Regions from separate parts of the Homo sapiens genome. Here regions 1 and 3 are each linked to region 2. The links are contacts of gene promoters, found by promoter capture Hi-C in human tissues and cell types (Jung and others, 2019). All regions are on one chromosome and are shown on one strand. The core of a region is centred on a gene start or on the middle of the fragment in contact, and the rest is flanking DNA. Distances in the headings are between cores, read along the strand shown. Region 1 has its middle 12 kb from the start of MIR492. Region 2 holds the start of UBE2N (ubiquitin conjugating enzyme E2 N). Region 3 overlaps VEZT (vezatin, adherens junctions transmembrane protein).

What was found. The method cuts DNA at HindIII sites, captures the fragments that hold promoters and counts their contacts. A contact is called where the count stands out against the background at its distance.
Region 1: a fragment that was not itself captured here is called in contact with the fragment with the promoter of UBE2N in region 2 in 1 of the 25 tissues and cell types used here (ovary).
Region 3: a contact is called between a fragment that was not itself captured here and the fragment with the promoter of UBE2N in region 2, in 1 of the 25 tissues and cell types used here (stomach).

The regions. Positions count from the first base shown.
Region 1 is chr12:94,820,886-94,823,689 of GRCh38, forward strand. No RefSeq gene overlaps it. Among named protein-coding and RNA genes, the nearest start is that of MIR492, 12 kb to the right of the region's middle. The HindIII fragment of the contact is 3,239 bases long and covers 1-2,804 here.
Region 2 is chr12:93,440,665-93,443,800 of GRCh38, forward strand. UBE2N (ubiquitin conjugating enzyme E2 N) reads right to left here and starts at 1,283. Exons shown (of 4, transcript NM_003348.4): 1 at 1,191-1,283. The coding sequence starts at 1,220. RefSeq lists silencers at 499-618, 649-788, 939-1,148, 1,229-1,688 and an enhancer at 1,181-1,818. The HindIII fragment of the contact is 20,755 bases long and covers 1-3,136 here.
Region 3 is chr12:95,232,531-95,235,738 of GRCh38, forward strand. The region is part of intron 1 of VEZT (vezatin, adherens junctions transmembrane protein); the gene reads left to right. Among named protein-coding and RNA genes, the nearest start is that of VEZT, 16 kb to the left of the region's middle. The HindIII fragment of the contact is 9,678 bases long and covers 1-3,208 here.

The sequences.
Region 1 (2,804 bases), core at 79-2,578, 1.4 Mb after region 2:
AATAGTTGATAGAACAGGTGGCAACCATGGAAGTGATGGTTTAAGGTACTCTTCGATATTTGAAGAGCTGCCAATAAAGAATGGCACTAGTTGTTTTGTGTCACCAACGGGTGAAATTTACAGGGGAGGCTAAGTTAGGCTCCATACATAAAATGATTTTCCAATACTTAAAATTATCCAAGAATTGATCCCACGGGCTTGAAAAGTTTTAAGCTTTCTTTTTGAAAGTGCCTGGGAGCCAGAAGATTATCAACCAACAAGAGCAATCTAAGGATTCCTCTGGTGGGTGAAGGGATGCACTCTGAAGTTTCAAGGCCCCTTTCAGCATCAAGAATCTGCAATTCTATGGTTCTGACTATAGCTGAGCTTCATCAGATTAGTAGACAGAGCCCAGTGCTACCCTCTCCTCCCACTCATTTTTGCATGGTGAATGGTAAATATTCTTGGGGCGAGGCGCAGTGGCTCACGCCTGTAATCCCAGCACTTTGGGAGGCCGAGGCAGGCGAATCACAAGGTCAGGAGATCGAAACCATCCTGGCCAACATGGTGAAACCTTGTCTCTAAAAAAAAATACAAAAATTAGCTGGGTGTGGTGGCATGTGCCTGTAATCCCAGCTACTTGGGAGGCTGAGGCAGGAGAATTGCTTGAACCAGGGAGTCGGAGGTTGCAGTGAGCTGAGATCGCACCACTGCACTCCAGCCTGGCGACAGAGCAAGACTCCATCTCAAAATAAATAAATAAATAAATTCTTGGTAGACTCTGGAAAAAATGATCAAATAATACTTGTGTCTCCAATATTAACTAATTTGTGTTAAATACCCTTTTATTCTACTTAAACTCTTGTATTTCTTATCTGCAAAAGGACCTAAATGAGAAGATAAAGGTAAATTAACTCTGAAAACCTTTAAAGCAATGTAAGGGATATTTTTATAATTATTGATGTTTATCAATAAGTAGAGAAGCACTCAACTAATTTTTTAAAAAAGAAAAATTTGCATATAAAGCAGTCATTTTTCTTATCTGACTTCAATTGTAAATTGCTGAGGAAGGTCTAATTTCACCTTCTATCTCAAGATTTGGTAGCCAAAGTTACCAAAGGCCTGCATAGTTACCAAAGGCCTGAACACACAATTCCAGGAAGGTGCCCAACACAGTGTATTAGCAAGAGAACTTGGAGGCTGGGCTTTGCCTTCTGTCCTCAAACAGGAATAAATGTAGATCCAGGGAGAATGAAAGAGTAAAAATTGGGACATCTAAACTAAGAATAAACCAAAGAGACAGGAATATTTGGGTGCTAAGAGGCAAAGGCCAAACACAAACTATAAAAGAAAAAATTGATTAACTGGACTTCAGAATTAAAAGCTCTCTTCAAAAGTCACCATTAAGAAAATTAATTAATTACTCTACATATTTACCAGTGAAAGAAAAGGAAAATGAAATGCAAGCCACAGATGGGTGAAAATATTTATAAATGATATCTGATAAGGCACTTATATCCAGAATATATAAAGAACTCTCACAACTCAATAATAAGACAAGGAACTCAATTTAAAAATAGGCCAGGCCGGGTGTGGTGGCTCACGCCTGTAATCCCTGAACTTTGAGAGGCCAAGGCAGGCAGATCACCTGAGGTCAGGAGTTCAAGACCAGCCTGATCAACATAGTGAAACTCCGTTTCTACTAAAAATACACAAATTAGCCAAGCATGGTAGAGCATGCCTGTAATCCCAGCTACTTGGGAGTCTGGGGCAGGAGAATCGCTTGAACCTAGGAGGCAGAGGTTGCAGTGAGCCAAGACTGTGCCACTGCACTCCCACCTAGGTGACAGAGCAAGACTTCACCTTAAAAATAAATAAATAAATAAATAAAAATAAAAATAGGCCAAAAATTGAATGGACATTTCACCAAAGAAAATATATAAACAGCTGAGTGGGTTCCAAGATGGCCGAATAGGAACAGCTCCAGTCTACAGCTCTCAGCGTAAGTGACCCAGAAGACAGATGATTTCTGCACTTCCATCTGAGGTACCGGGTTCATTTCACTGGGGCTTGTCAGACAGTGGGTGCAGCCCAGGGAGTGTTAGGTGAAGCAGGGCGGGGCATCGCTTCACCCGGGAAACACAAAGGGTCGGGGAATTCCCTTTCCTAGCCAAGGGAAGCCGTGACAGATAGCACCTGGAAAATCGGGACACTCCCACCCTAATACTGCGCTTTTCCAATGGTCTTAGCAAACAGCACACCAGGAGATTTTATCCCACGCCTGGCTCGGAGGGTCCCAAGCCCACGGAGCCTTGCTCACTGCCAGCACAGCAGTCTAAGATCGAACTGCAAGGTAGCAGCAAGGCTAGGGGAGGGGCATCTGCCATTGCTTAAGCCTGAGTAGGTAAACAAAGCGGCCCAGAAACTCGAACTGGGTGGAGCCCACTGCAGCTCAAGGAGGCCTGCCTGCCACTGTAGACACCACCTCTGGGGGCAGGGCATAGCTGAACAAAAAGCAGCAGAAACTTCTGCAGACTTACACGTCCCTGTCTGACAGCATTGAAGAGAGTAGTGGTTCTCCCAGCACGGAGTTTGAGATGTGAGAACGGACAGACTGCCTCCTCAAGTGGGTCCCTGACCTCCAAGTAGCCTAACTGGGAGACACCTTCCAGTAGGGGGCCGACTGACACCTCATACAGCCAGGTGCCCCTCTGAGACAAAGCTTCCAGAGGAAGGAATATTTGCTGTTCTGTAATATTTGCTGTTCTGCAGCCTCCGCTGGTGATACCCAGGCAAACAGGGTTGGAGTGGACCTCCAGCAAACT
Region 2 (3,136 bases), core at 33-2,532:
ATGCTGCAATTGAGTCACTTTAACTGGCGCATTTAGTCACATAAATGTGCAACTAATTTCCTTCATAAAAACCGACACAAAAATTTAAGGTTTAGTTGTTGTGATGACAAGGAATATCTCACGTCTGAAGACTTGTCGATATTTCCTTAAGACTTTACAAAATCAAAGAATCGAAAATGTCATGGTTCCATACATACTTGTCAAAACACAGTATTCATAAACAGCCAATTAATAATTAAAACGCACAAAATTGAGGGGCAAAAGATTTCACGAGATCCCCCACAGAGGCCAAGGTAGGAAGATCTCTGAAGCCAGGAGTTTTGGAAGCCGCCTGGGCACTATAGCGAGGCCTCATATCTACGAAAAAGAGAGGAGAGGAGAGAAGAGGAGAGAGAAAGAGAATCCCCCATAACTGCGGCCCTCCCCCAGCCTTGTGTTAAAACTATTTCCTCGGAACAGCTCTGAAAGAGTTTGCCAACCAGAGTAAAATCACTTCGCAGAGATAAACGAGCGGAAACGTATTCAGAAGAGAGAGATCGCGGAAGCAAGGGCAGCGGGGCGCGGGGCCCCCACGTCCCGGGACCCAGGCAGCCGCGGCAACCAGGGGCGAGCATGTGCTGACCGCGGCAGGACGCGCGGGCCTCCCAGAGCCACTTCCCGGGGCGCAGGGCCCCGCCCGGCCTGACCCTCCCGGTTCATTCATTCTGCACCCGCGGTTGCCGCACCTCCGCGGCCCCGTCGGGGCGGAGAAGAGGGGCTTGGCTGCCGAGGGACCTTGTCGGGCCACAATCCCCACCAGGCGCCCGAGCCCCGCCGCGATTCCCGCGCGCCCGCGGCCTCCGGCGGGGGGGTGGTCTCAGAAGCTATGGAGGCCCGCGCCCAAGCCCAGAGACCCCCAGCCTTGCCGCCCCACCCTCCGCCGGGGCGTGGGACAGCACTCCCTGGCCCGCCGGGCAGCCGCCTGGAAGCCCCGGGTCCCCGCTGTCCGGCTGCCCCGCCGCGGCCGGAAGTCTCCCCGGCGCCCCCTCCTCAGCACCCGACTTCCCTCGCCGCCGCGGCCAACCCCTCTCCGCGCCGCCTCGGGCCTCCCAGAGCGGGCCGCGGGCCGAAGGAGGCGAGAGGCCGCGCTGCCTGCCCAGCTGAGCCGACGAGAGCAGAGCGAAGAGCTGGAGGCCGGCCTGGGCGGTTACCTTGATGATCCTGCGGGGCAGCCCGGCCATCTTGTCAGAACCCGAGTTCGGCCTCTGGTCTCGTCTCCGGCTCCTCTCGCCTCACGCACGAGTGGAAGTCCCGGGCTCCACTTCCGGGGGACGTTGCCGCGCCCGTCGCCGCAGCCGCCGCCGAGGCCCCTCGGGAAATGTAGTCCCTGCTCGGGCGCGGGCTCGGGCACGGGCGGGCTTCCCTCCGACCTGGCCCCCTCCCCCGTGCGCCCCGCCCCAACCGCTGCCGGGGATGGCGGAAGTGACGCTCTGTTGCGGGGCAGGGACTTGGGACAGGCCGCGAGGGGAGGCGCGGGGCTCTGGCGCTCGTGGCCGAGCCTGCCCGCGACGGTGGTACGGCACGACCCGCGCGCGACTGCGCGCGCGTCTCTCTTAACCGTGGCCACGCCCGCGCCGGTGGACGACGTAACAGAGGCCTGGCCTACGACGTATCCCATTCATTCATTCACGCGTTCGTTCTTTCAGCTCACGCGTTCGTTCTTTCAGCTCAGCCTGCATTGCGCGCGTTCCCTGCTGGCTCTGCAGTGAACGACTGAGGTGGGGCTCATCGTCTTGCTCCTTCCTCAAAGGGAGGGCAAGACCGAAACTCGGTGGCAAAGCTCTGACTGGGGGTCTCTCCAGTTACTCACACGCTGTTGGGGGAGTTTTGATGTTTAAATTGTATAAATCGGACCTCTGACACGCCCCTAGGCCCAGGGTAGGCTGAAGGAAAAGGGTTTGGAGCGAGTTGGAGGCGGGAAGAATGGTTCTGAACGCCTAGACCTAAAGGTTGAGACTCAGAATTGTTAACAGGACGAATGACCAAGGAGAGGTTTAAAGAACCCAGAGTAATCCGTAAAGCAGAGATTACCTATAGAGTGCGAGGTCCTATGAGAGAATTAGAGTGGGGGTGCCCGAAAATTGAATTGTTGGGGAAGCGTTTTATCCTGATGACGGATGGTTTGCTGTGTGATGGACTGTTTGCAAGCACTTTACTTCATCTTCACAGCAATCGTGAGGAGGTGTTGTTTCCATTTTACAAATGAGGCTTAGATAGTTAACCTTTTCCAAGGAGCTGTTTTGTCCCCAGGCAGATCCGCCAAGACCTGGCCCTTAACTACTTAACCACAGTGTTTCCTAGCACACTAACAGACAGTAGATGGTGAATAAATGAAGACAAGACTGACCGTGCCTTCCAGGAACTTAGATTCCAATGGAGAAGAGAGACCAGTAAACAATTAGTTACAATCCAATGTGTTAAGGGCTGTCTGTAATACAGGTTCCTCCAAGGTGCTATTTTAGCAGAGAGGCATTAACTGCTTGAGAACTCAGGGAAGCCTTCTTAAATAAGTGAAGTCCTCAATGATGAGTAAGAACCTACCTGACCTTGTAGGGAAGAGTATGCCAAGCATAGGAAATGGCCTGTGAAATGGCATTGAGCTATGAGAGAGAAAAAATAGTGCACTAAAGAAACTGGAACTCTGAATACAAGAAACCTACTAAGAACAATAAGAAATATTTTGTGCTGGCACGATGCTAAATGGTTAATAAATTTAATACATCATTCAATTATGAAACAGATGAAGTAGTCTCTATTATTAACAGAACGTTTTAGATGAGAAGCCAAGGTTCAGAGGTAATAATGAGAATTTCAAATAACCAGAAGTCTGCAATAGGTGGTTCTGTGACTAGAAGAATCTGCAAAAGTAAATGAAACTGGACAAAGATACTTTTCAGAATATTTTATAGAGGACCCAGGATAATTCATGCTGGTAGGCAGAAAGGCAGAGTGCTATTGTGTTGGGAGTGTGTAGGTCTGCAGTCTGGGCAGGGCTTGGCAGGAAGGCACACTCTGCTTGTGCTGCATCAGCCTGTGCAACCAGAAGATTGGCTTCCATGATGGTTCACAAGGCGGGCAAGTTGGTGCTGGCTGTTAG
Region 3 (3,208 bases), core at 350-2,849, 1.8 Mb after region 2:
TTACACAGTTTCGGGCTTTTGTGCCAATGCTTTGTGCCTCATACTCTCTTCTCTGTTAGTAGCTAGTGTGCCTGTGTTTTCTTGTTGCTTTTTGTGTTTAATATGGACTGCATGGCCCAAATGACATCTGACATCTGACAATAGTTAGCATTTTGCCAAACCTGATAGTGTGGTTTAGATATCATACTGACATTTTAAATAAAGGAATGTATAATAGTTGAAGTAGAGCATTAGTTTTTGGGTTGGTTTGGTTTGGGTTTTTTTGTTCGTTTGTTTTGTTTTTTGGGTTTTTTGAGACAGAGTCTCACTCTGTCGCCCAGGCTGGAGTGCAGTGACGCAATCTCGGCTCACTGCATCCTCTACTTCCCAAGCTCAAGCGGTCCTCCTGCCTCAGCCTCCTGAGTTGCTAAGAGCACAGGTGTGTACCACCATGTTTGACTAATTTTTGTATTTTTTGTGGAGACAGGGTTTTGCCATGTTGCTCAGACTGGTCTCAAATTCCTTGGCTCAAGTGATCTGCATGGCTTGACCTCCCAAAGTGCTGGGATTATAGGGGTGAGCCACTGCATCCACCCCATTGTTAGTTTTTATATGGGAAAGTGTATTGGCTCATTTTATTCATTTACTAAATTCTCATGTAATTAGGTACCTTCTTTTTTCTTTTTCTTTTTTTTTTCTTAGCAGACCTTAACTATGTTTTTCCACACAGATAACACATGAATATGTTCTCATTGTAAAACATTCACATAATACAGGGAAAGGATCAGCTCTCCCTTAATCCCCCTTTTCCTTTGCAGGTCCACCTTTCTCCACAGAAGTACCACTGTAATCACTTTCGTATATTTTCTTTTTTAAATTATTTTTTATTTTTATTTTTTATGTTTTTTGAGACAGAGTCTCACTCTCTTGCCGAGGCTGGAGTGCAGTGGCACAATCTTGGCTCACTGCAACCTCCGCCTCCCAGGTTCAAGTGATTCTCCCACCTCAGCCTCCCAAGTAGCTGGGACTACAGGTGTGTGCCACCACGCCTGGCTAATTTTTTTGTATTTTTAGTACACACAAGGTTTCACCATGTTGGCCAGGCTGGTCTCAAACTCCTGGCCTCAAGTGATCCCCCCACCTCGGCCTCCCAAAGTGCTGAGATTATAGGTGTGAGCCACTGTGCCTGGCCAATGTTGGTATATTTTCTTTCAGATTATTCTCAGCGCAATTACATTCATCTATATGTGTATGTGTATATATATATATGTGTGTGACATACATAAATATATTGTATAATTCCATTTTGTGGGTTTTTTAAAACACAAATGGGGTTTTTAAATGGCTAGTACTAGTCGATATTCTTGTATGTATATTTGGCATACTTTTATAATTGTATTCATAGACTGGAAGCTTAGTGGTAAAATTGCTAGGTCAACGGATATTTGCATTTATATTTTTATACCTATACTCCCACTAATAGTGTATGATGTATCTGTATTCCAACGTTGCCAAAACTGAGTATTCTCAGACTTCTTAATTATTGCCAACTAATAGGTAAAAATTGTGTCTTTGTTTCAATTTGCATTTCTTCAAAGGTGAAGTTTAACATGTTTTCATTCATATTGACCCATTTGTATTTTTTTCTTTGAACTGCTTCTTTATATCCTTTACCCATTTCTACAATTTAAAAAAATATTATTACTGGTTTATGTGGCCTTATTGTAAATTAAAAAACTGTTGCATCATGTTAGCCAAATTTTCTATCAATAATCTTTTTTTTTTTTTTTTTTTTGAGACAGAGTTTCGCTCTTGGCCCCCAGGCTAGAGTGCAATGGCGCGATCTGGGCTCACCGCAACCTCCCCGCCGGCCGGGTTCAAGCGATTCTCCTGCCTCAGCCTGCCGAGTAGCTGGGATTACAGGCATGCGCCACCACCCCCGGCTAATTTTTTTGTATTTTTTTAGTAGAGGCAGGGTTTCTCCATGGTGGTCAGGCTGGGTCTTGAACACCTAACCCCAGGTGATTTGCCCGCCTCAGCCTCCGAAAGTGCTGGGATTACAGACATGAGCCACCGCGCCAGGCTTCCATTTTCAGTGAGTTGTTTTTAAAACACATTAAGCTAGTTTTGAAAGTAGTTTTGTTTTTTTTGTTTTTTATTTATTTATTTATTTATTTTTTAATTGATCATTCTTGGGTGTGATTTGGCAGGGTCACAGGACAGTAGTGGAGGGAAGGTCAGCAGATAAACAAGTGAACAAAGGTCTCTGGTTTTCCTAGGCAGAGGACCCTGCGGCCTTCCGCAGTGTTTGTGTCCCTGGGTGCTTGAGATTAGGGAGTGGTAATGACTCTTAAGGAGCATGCTGCCTTCAAGCATCTGTTTAACAAAGCACATCTTGCACCGCCCTTAATCCATTCAACCCTGAGTGGACACAGCACATGTTTCAGAGAGCACAGGGTTGGGGGTAAGGTCACAGATCAACAGGATCCCAAGGCAGAAGAATTTTTCTTAGTACAGAACAAAATGAAAAGTCTCCCATGTCTACCTCTTTCTACACAGACACGGCAACCATCCGATTTCTCAATCTTTTCCCCACCTTTCCCCCCTTTCTATTCCACAAAACCGCCATTGTCATCATGGCCCGTTCTCAACGAGCTGTTGGGTACACCTCCCAGACGGGGTGGTGGCCGGGCAGAGGGGCTCCTCACTTCCCAGTAGGGGCGGCCGGGCAGAGGCGCCCCTCACCTCCCGGACAGGGCGGCTGGCCGGGCGGGGGCTGACCCCCACCCACCTCCCTCCCGGACGGGGCGGCTGGCCGGGCAGAGGGGCTCCTCACTTCCCAGTAGGGGCGGCCGGGCAGAGGCGCCCCTCACCTCCCGGACGGGGCGGCTGGCTGGGCGGGAGGCTGACCTCCCCACCTCCCTCCCGGACGGGGCGGCTGGCCGGGCAGAGGGGCTCCTCACTTCCCAGTAGGGGCGGCCGGGCAGAGGCGCCCCTCACCTCCCGGACGGGGCAGCTGGCCGGGCGGGGGGCTGACCCCCCGACCTCCCTCCCGGACGGGGCGGCTGGCCGGGCAGAGGGGCTCCTCACTTCCCAGTAGGGCCGGCCGGGCAGAGGCACCCCTCACCTCCCGGATGGGGCGGCTGGCCGGGCGGGGGGCTGACCCCCACCTCCCTCCCGGACGGGGCGGCTGGCCGGGCGGGGGGCTGACCCCCACCTCCCTCCCGGA